3 separate regions of the Homo sapiens genome follow, and regions 2 and 3 are each linked to region 1. Evidence: promoter capture Hi-C in 16 types of primary human blood cells and fetal thymus (Javierre and others, 2016). All regions are on one chromosome and are shown on one strand. The core of a region is centred on a gene start or on the middle of the fragment in contact, and the rest is flanking DNA. Distances in the headings are between cores, read along the strand shown. Region 1 holds the start of SEC24B (SEC24 homolog B, COPII component). Region 2 overlaps MCUB (mitochondrial calcium uniporter dominant negative subunit beta). Region 3 overlaps MCUB (mitochondrial calcium uniporter dominant negative subunit beta).

Region 1 (2,762 bases), core at 185-2,684:
TTACCTAGTTATTCCCTTACCCACGTAATTATAGACCTTAATCCAAATTCAAAGGACTCCTGGGAGATGCTGGAATCTGTAATTGTGTAATCTCTTTGATGAAGCACAGAGTGTGATCTTTTGCTCATGTGGGGCTAGGTTTCTGTGGAGAAGCTGGAAATGCTGTGGAAAAGGGCTTGCCCCTTTTGTGTATATGAACTCTAATGTAGTTGAAATTCCTAGAAGTCAAAGATATAAATCTAACTACTAAAATTCATTTAGTGCATTAAAATGCCAGTTATTAATTTACGGCAACAACTAAAGGGAAGCTTTGTATTATTCTAGGACTACAATGCAATTTATGCTTTGCATAATCATTCAGTAAATGACTTATTGCTCCAGAAATACCATCTTGCTAGATCCCATTCTGAATTCAGTGTTTCTGAGCAATCTCATCTCCAATACAGAGTGATGACATACTCAGGATTCCAAGACGGCAAAATGACTTGGGTAATGTAGTCTAGGGCCTGCCAGTGAGTATGCTGAGACAGACCAGAAAGACTTAAAGATTCCACTAATGTAGACAAAGCAAGCTGAGCCACAACTTCTCGGAACACCAACAGGATGCACCAACAATCGACAAAAAAAAAAAAAAAAAAGGAGATAAAGTTTAAAGTTTGTCTTCCAGCATTCCCTTACCCTATTTTCCCCTTCCTCTTCCCTACTTTATCAGTGGGAAAAGTTCTCAATAATGCAATTCTTACTGAGATTCTTGTGTTTATCAGAGAAATGTTTCCTCTTTCTTTGCCAAGGAATTATATATTCCCAACAGACATGGCGCTTGAATGCTATATTTCCTTTGGAATCAAGAAAGGGGAGGTGGGGGAATCAAAAATTAAAAACCAAACCCAAGCCATTGTTCCTCTTCGAGGAAGGGTGGGTGGTCAGTCGTCGCCTGAGCTCCGAACATCAACCCGCGGCTCTCAAGTTCCCCTCCCAGTAATGCTGGGCCCAGCCTCGCCGCGGCCGATCCAGCCTCTGCCCTAGGTGGAAGCGGGCCACCCGGTCCCTTCACCCACTGAGGCCCAGTCCTTTCGCCTCAACACGAAGGCACCTGGCCGGGCCGGAGCAGCAGCCGCGGGGCCGGCACTGGGGCCACGGAACCCCGGGCCAGACTCAGGCCTGGGCCAGCTCGGCTCCGGCCTGCAGGGGGCGCTGCGGCGGCACCGGCGCGAGGCCCGCGCGTGCGGGGAGCGACCCCAGGTGTAAGTCCCGGGGCGTGGGGCGCGTGGGTCAAGGCGGAGCGACCCAGGATCCCCGCGCCCGCGGCGGCCGCCGAGTGGCAGCGCTGGACTCGCGGAGAAGCTTGGGTACCTGAGCCGCGGTCCCGGGTGACACCCTCAGTGACGCCAGGCGCGTTCCTTCCTCTTCCTCTCTCCTCTCCGGCCCCGCCTTCCCTTCCCTCCGCCCACCTCCCTGAAGCGGAGCCGCCGTCGCCACCAGCGCCGTCATGTCGGCCCCCGCCGGGTCCTCTCACCCGGCCGCCAGCGCCCGGATCCCGCCCAAGTTCGGCGGAGCGGCCGTCTCAGGAGCCGCAGCGCCCGCGGGCCCGGGTGCGGGCCCGGCGCCGCACCAGCAGAACGGTGAGGCGGGCGGCCCGGGCGGAGCGCGGGGCCTAGCACCGGCTGGGCGGCCTGCACGGCCACATCGGGGCGGGGCGGGCCGGGCCGGGAAGGGCGTTCGGGGCCAGGCCCGGCCCGAGGGACGGGAGCGGGCGCGGTGCGGAGGCCGCGGGGTCCGGGTTGGGTGCGGGTAGGGGGCAGGGAAGGCACGGCGCGGGGCGCGCGGGGGTGGGACGCCCCTGGCGTGGGGGCGGGGGCCGGCCTGGGAAAGCTGGGGCCGTGGCTGTTTATGTAATGCGACCCCAGGCCCGAAACGGCCTCGGGCGAGTAGGGGCGACTGAAAAGCTGGGAGCCCACGTAGTAAAACCCAGTTACCTAGCCTGGACGCGGGCGAGTTGCCCCGAGCGACCCCTTGGCTGCGAGAGCTGGCCAGAAGCCGAGGCCGCTGAGTGCGTGGTCCGGAGAAGGCTGGTGCAGCCACCCAGCAGGGTGGATTGTGCCCTTCCTGTCTCAGGAAAATTGCTTCGGTTCCCGAGGCCCAGCGAACACGCTGCCTTGAGGAAACTTAAGTTTGCACTCAAGTTTGTAGACAAAAGGGTGTAAATATGCTATATAAGTGTAACTGTAACCCTGACCCAGTTCGGCCTCAAGAACTGTCATTGCCGCTGCGGCTGCTGCTCAAGCTTTTGGAGTTTGCTTGTAGTGTTTGAAAGGGAGCAGATGTAAACGGATTTAAACGAACATCTTTAGATCTGGGTGTTTTTCCTAGCTCCACTTTCAGAGATGAAAAAACGTGCCAGAGTTGGCCCTGCTTTGAGGCAGGGCCTTCATACAGGCAGCAGCCAAATGCAGCACGAAAGCCGCTTTCATATTAAGGTCGTGGGCTTTTAGTAGGCTGCAAAATGATGGATATGCATTCCCTAATGCTGAGATTTGGAATGTTCGCGGATAGGGGCCAAGGGTGGAGGAATTCTCCTTACAGACTTCTTAGTATGTCAGATGAGAACCTTGGAAAGTAATTGACTGAATTTAGAAAAATACCTCTGTCCTGTGTTGGTACGAGAACCAAACTGCATTAGTACTCTCCAGATGATTGACCTGTTTTATCTAATTTCCTAATGAAAATCTGCTGGACTTTATGAATTAGTTTAATCAACATCT
Region 2 (2,762 bases), core at 180-2,679, 240 kb after region 1:
TCTTTTCCCCTAGGTTAACTAAGCTCTAATGAAATCCCAATCGGTTAGGCTCTGGGAAAATAATTTACCTTGTGGACAGTCCTTGTTAAGAGTAACAGAATTTGGCCAGGCGCAGTGGTTCATGCCTTTAATCCCAGCACTTTGAGAGGCTGAGGGAGTGGGGATCACTGGGTCAGGAGTTTGAGATCAGCCTGCCAACATGGTGAAACCCTGTCTCTACTAAAAATACAAAAATTAGCTGGGCATGGGGGCAGGTGCCTGTAATCACAGGTACTCGGGAGGCTGAGGCAGGAGAATCGCTTGAACCCGGAAGGCGGAAGCTGCAGTGAGCCAAGATCATGTCATTGCACTCCAGCCTGGGCAACAGAGCGAGGAGACTCTGTCTCCAAAAAAAAAAAAGAAAAAGAAAAAGAACAGAATTCTCTGGCATATTTCAAAATCACTACTTTTCCTTTCCTGCTGCCGTAAGGAGGAGGAGATTTTTCTTCAGTTTTCACTGTATCTAGTAGAGCTCCTAGAAGTGAAACTCACAAAAGTGTGGGAATGCGCCCACCTATGGGACTCCCTGGAATGCTTACATTTCAAGAGTTGTCCACGCTGAGCCTCCAGCAATTTGTCAGTTACAGTTCAGGTTTTCCTACCCTGGTACTGATTCTTTGCAGATTTCTGCTCATGAGTCTCTGCTTCGCTAAGTTGTCATTGTCTGTATTTATCTATCTTTTCAATTTTGGCGACAGCAATTTTCCCTCTAACCTTAGTTTTCTTATGCATCTAAGAAAAGTTGTTGATTTTCATTGTATTCAGCCATTTATTAATTGTTAGGATGGACTGACAACTTTGGAGTTTTTTTATGTCAGACAGGAAACTGGAAGTCTTAACTTTTTCTTAAAGAGAGCTTTTTTCATCTCAAATTACCATTTTGGCCATTAGCAATATTCTTTTGGACAGTTCTCAGCCATTATTAGTTCAAATAGTGCTGCTTTTCCCTTCTCTCTTTTTTCTTCTTCTAGTAGTCCCATTATGCCTAAGTTACACTTGTGCAATTGTCCCACAGTTCTTAGATATTTTGTTAGGTTTTTTTTCCATTCTTTTTTCTCTTTGACCTTCAGTTTGAGAAAGTTTCTGTTGGCATACCCCCAAGCTGACTGATTCTTTCCTCCCCAGTGTGTAGTCTACTGATGAGCCCATCAAAGGCATTCTTCATTTCTGTTACAGTGGTTTTTATTTCTAGCAATTCCTTTTGGTTCTTTCTAAGTTTCTATCTCTCCATTTACATTACTCATCTGTTCTTGCATATTGTGCACTTTTTCCATTAGAGCCTTTAATCATAGTTGCTTTACTATCCTACTCTGATACTTCCAAAATCTCTGCCATATCAGAGCCTGGTTCTGATGCTTGTTTTGTCTCTTCAAACTGTGGTTGTTGTTGTTTTTTTCTTTGCCTTTTAGCTTGTCTTTAAATTTTTTGCTGAAAGCTAGACATGATGTATCAGGCAATAGAAACTGAGCTGAATAGGTCTTTAGTGTGAGGTTTTATGTGGCTAGGAGTTAGATGTTTAATGTTTGCTGTAGCTGTAGGTATCAGAGGCTTTCCTCTAGTGTCCTTATTTTTGTTTCTCCTGATGTTTTGGGGTTTCCCTATAAATTCTTTCTCAAATAGAATCTGTGCCTTGTATAAAACTGGAGCCCTGTTAATGTAGTGGTAAGATATTGAGGAGAGGAATCATTCTATAATCTTATTATTAAATATATATATATTTTTAATTGGGCCTGTGTCTCTAAAATGTAATATTTACAAGAGTTTCTTAGCCTCTTTTATTCTCCTGTGTGAGGCAGTAAGGCTAGAGGGGTCTGTAGTTGACTAATTGCCCTTTCTCCAAGCCAGATAAGGCTCTGGTAAAGTAGTTTCCTATTATGGAGGACATGTGCTCAGGGCTATTTCAGAATGGTTATTTTTCCTTCCCTCCTGCCCAAAGCAGGGAGAGTATTTTTCTCTGATCTCTGATCTTCACTGTGAGAACCTGGTAAGGTTCCAGGAGATAAAACTCATGAAAGTGTGGGAGTTTTTCCTTCAATGCTAGTTTACACTGAGTGTCCAGCAATTCACCAATTACAGTTTAAGAATTCTGGCTAGTATTGGCTCCTGAGGCTTCTTCTCCCAGTAAGCTATAATTATAGACTGTTAAGGGTAGGAGGAAGAAATTCATAAGTCTATGCCTTAATAAATTGGTGATAAAAGAAATAGATCAACAAATAATAGAAGGCTCTTACTTACAGTGAGGTGCTGAGCATCTACTGGTAAATGTGGGAGAGTTTCTGGAGGTGGAAAATCATCACTTTGCAGCCAAATTCTAGATCAGGCAAGAGCCATCAACAGGGAGGGAATTTAGATAAGAAATTTCTGTTAAAAAAAGTCCTCCAGCTTGAAGCAGCTCCAGCTAACCATTATCTGGTACAGTTTGAACACCAGTGACTCCTGTGTCTTTGTGACTTGCTCCCTCTCCCCCTTTTTTTGTAAGTACTTTTACTTTTTGATATAGAAAGATGATCCAGGTTGACCTTGTACCTATCATGTCCCATCACTTTTATCAGCCATTTCTCTGAGGACCCCTCAAACAAAAATAATTTTTTAAAATTTTAATTGTATATTTGAACATTATGCGGGATTTTCAAATACAAACAAGAAAAAAGAAATTAAAATGAATCACTCATTTCAACACTTACAAACTTGCTTCCATTCTGAATTCTCTTTTAACATCAGGG
Region 3 (2,762 bases), core at 176-2,675, 200 kb after region 1:
CCTTCAGTCTCTGTATATACCTGGCTAATTTCTGCCCCACTTGGGGTCTTCTCTTTCGGCTTTGGAGCCTCCCTCCCTCTCTCTCTACAAGGGAGCGTCTTCCTTCCTTCCTTCTCCCTTCCTTCTCGCCTATTAAATTCTCTGTTCCTTAAAACCACTCCACGTGTGTCTGTGTCTTCTCATCTAATTCAAGGTAAAACAAAAAAGCCCTGGTGTTTCTCCACTCATCCGAGCCGTATCATTTGTACTGATGATGAAGATTTGTGTGGTTTCCAGTTTTTGCTTATTATGTAAAATGCAGCTCTAAACTTTGTTTGTCTTTTAAGAACATATGCAATTAATTATTTTGGTTTACACTTAGGAGTAGAATTTCTGGGTCATTAGGTATATGTGTATTTAGAGATACTGCCAGTTTTCCAAAGTGTAGTTGACACTCCCAACAGTAGTGTACAAAAGTTTCATTTTGAGCATAGACTTAGTCTCAATCTAATTCCGGGACTGGGTATCTAACTGACCCAGCTTGGAGCTGGTATCTGGTCAATTACAATGAGGGGATTAAGGGTCACATAGTACAGACATGGTTTTGGGAGGCCCACCACTGCTGCATTCTAGGTGGAAGTAGAGGCAATTTCTAAAACATCGGAGATTGTATGAACTGGGTAGATACCCTAAAAGGTTTCAGTCACATATATACAAATTAGATGCACAAGGAGAGGCTCTGGACTGGAGATACAGCTTCAAGCCATCAGCAAAGTAATGTAGTTGAAGCAACGTGACTAGATGAGATTGCCTAAGGACACTGCTTAGAGTGAGATAAGAGAGGGTAGCCTCTGTTAGAACTCTGGAAAACACCAACATTTAAAGGATGACAAGAAGAGGAATCTCTAAAGTAAACTGAGAAAATATAATCAGAAATCCAACGGAATGTGATGTCATGAAAGTTAAGAAAGAGAATGTTTGGCCGGGCACAGTGGCTCACACCCATAATCCCAGCACTTTAGGAGGCCGAGGCGGGCAGATCACCTGAGGTCAGGAGTTCGAGACCAACCTGGCCAACGTGGCAAAACCCCATCTTTACTAAAAATACAAAAATTAGCCTGATATGGTGGTGCCCACCTGTAATCCCAGCTACTTGGGAGGCTGAGGCAGGAGAATCGCTTGAACCTGGGAGGCGGAGGTTGCAGTGAGCCAAGATCGTGCCACCGCACTCCAGCCTGGGAGACGGAGTGAGACTCCATCTCAAAAAACAACAACAAAAATGTTTCAAGGAAGAGAGAGTGATCAAAAGTGGCGATTGCTTCTGCAAGGTCAGCAATGAAAAGCTTTCATATGATCTAGAGACCAGTAGTCCAGTGGCCTTCTGAGAGTAATTTTAGTGAAATGATGGGGCAGAAGCCAGATTGCAATGGGTCAGGAATGTGTGAAAGATGAGGAGATAGAGATAATAAATGTCACCAACTTGTTCAAGTCATTTAGCTATGGAAGGAAGAGGAAGCAGGCATAGAGAAAGGGCAGTCAGAAGGCAGGAGAAGCTTGAGCAGACTTACCTGCTGATGAGGAAGATGCAGTTGAGAAAGATACTCAGTAAAGTAAGGTCACTTGGAAGGAGATATGATCCCAAGCTGTGGGGAAATGTGTCAGCCCTATGGGGACACAGAAAGACTTCTTCCAGTGTAACCATAAGGGAGCAGGGAAAGATGACTGGTTTTGTGGCTGAAGTTTGAAAGAGGCTAGTCACTCAGTACATACTAGGTGTTCAGTAAAATTAGCTGAATTAATTGAGGACTAAATGACTTTATACAAGTATCTACCCAGGGGAAAAGAAGTCATTATACGAAAAAGATACTTGCACACCCTTGTTTATTGCAGCACAATTTGCAATTGCAAAACTATGGAACCAGCCCAAATGCCCATCAATCAACAAGTGAATAAAGAAAATGTAGTGTACACACACACACAATGGAATATTACTCAGCCATAAAAAGGAATGAAGTAATGGCATTTGCAACAACCTGGATGGAATTGTAGACTAATACTCTAAGTGAAGTAACTCAGGAATGGAAAACCAAACATTTTTGTTCTCATTCATAAGTGGGAGCTAAGCTATGAGTACCCAAAGGCGTAAGAATGATACAGTGTACTTTGGGGACTCGGGAAAATGGTGGGAGGGGGGTGAGGGAATATACTACACACTGGGTACAGTGCTACTTGGGTAATGAATGCACCAAAATTTCAGAAATCACCACTAAAGAACTAATTCATGTAACCAAATACGACCTGTTCCCAAAACCCATTGAAATAAAATATAATTAAGTAAATTTTTAAAATGTTTAAAATGACTGTATATAGGCATACCTCAGAGATATTGCAGGTTTGGTTCCAGACCACTACAGTAAAGCAAGTCTTGCAATAAAATGAGTCACAACATTTTTTGTTTGTTTTGTTTTGTTTCCTAGTGCATATTGAAGTTATGTTTACAGTCCAGGGCCTGGTGGCTCATGCCTGTAATCCCAGCACTTTGGGAGGCCAAGGCAAGAGGATCACTTTAGCCCAGGAGTTTGAGACAAACGTGGGCAACATGGTGAAACCCCATGTCTACAAAAAAATACAAAAATTAGCTGGACATGGTGGCGCATGCCTGTAGTCCCAATTACTAGGGAGGCTGAGGTAGGAGGATCACTTGAACCCAGGAGGTCAAGGCAGCAGTGAACTGAGATCATGCCAGTGCACTCCAGCCTGGGCAACAGAGCGAAACCTTGTCT

The links. The method cuts DNA at HindIII sites, captures the fragments that hold promoters and counts their contacts. A CHiCAGO score of 5 or more calls a contact.
Region 2: a fragment that was not itself captured here is called in contact with the fragment with the promoter of SEC24B in region 1 in 7 of 17 cell types (naive CD4 T cells, activated CD4 T cells, non-activated CD4 T cells and 4 more); the score reaches 9.4 in naive CD4 T cells.
Region 3: a fragment that was not itself captured here is called in contact with the fragment with the promoter of SEC24B in region 1 in 3 of 17 cell types (naive CD4 T cells, naive CD8 T cells and activated CD4 T cells); the score reaches 5.9 in naive CD4 T cells.

Annotation. Positions count from the first base shown.
Region 1 is chr4:109,432,381-109,435,142 of GRCh38, forward strand. SEC24B (SEC24 homolog B, COPII component) reads left to right here and starts at 1,435. Exons shown (of 24, transcript NM_006323.5): 1 at 1,435-1,622. The coding sequence starts at 1,490. It overlaps SEC24B-AS1 (SEC24B antisense RNA 1), which reads right to left and starts at 1,437. Exons shown (of 3, transcript NR_039978.1): 1 at 1,354-1,437. RefSeq lists silencers at 1,065-1,454, 1,505-1,774, 2,153-2,447 and enhancers at 1,329-2,188, 2,265-2,414. The HindIII fragment of the contact is 940 bases long and covers 1,343-2,282 here.
Region 2 is chr4:109,670,333-109,673,094 of GRCh38, forward strand. All of the region lies in intron 4 of MCUB (mitochondrial calcium uniporter dominant negative subunit beta), which reads left to right. It also overlaps a transcript of CASP6 not described here. Among named protein-coding and RNA genes, the nearest start is that of CASP6, 32 kb to the right of the region's middle. The HindIII fragment of the contact is 3,992 bases long and covers 1-2,762 here.
Region 3 is chr4:109,635,594-109,638,355 of GRCh38, forward strand. The region is part of intron 1 of MCUB (mitochondrial calcium uniporter dominant negative subunit beta); the gene reads left to right. Among named protein-coding and RNA genes, the nearest start is that of CASP6, 66 kb to the right of the region's middle. The HindIII fragment of the contact is 210 bases long and covers 1,321-1,530 here.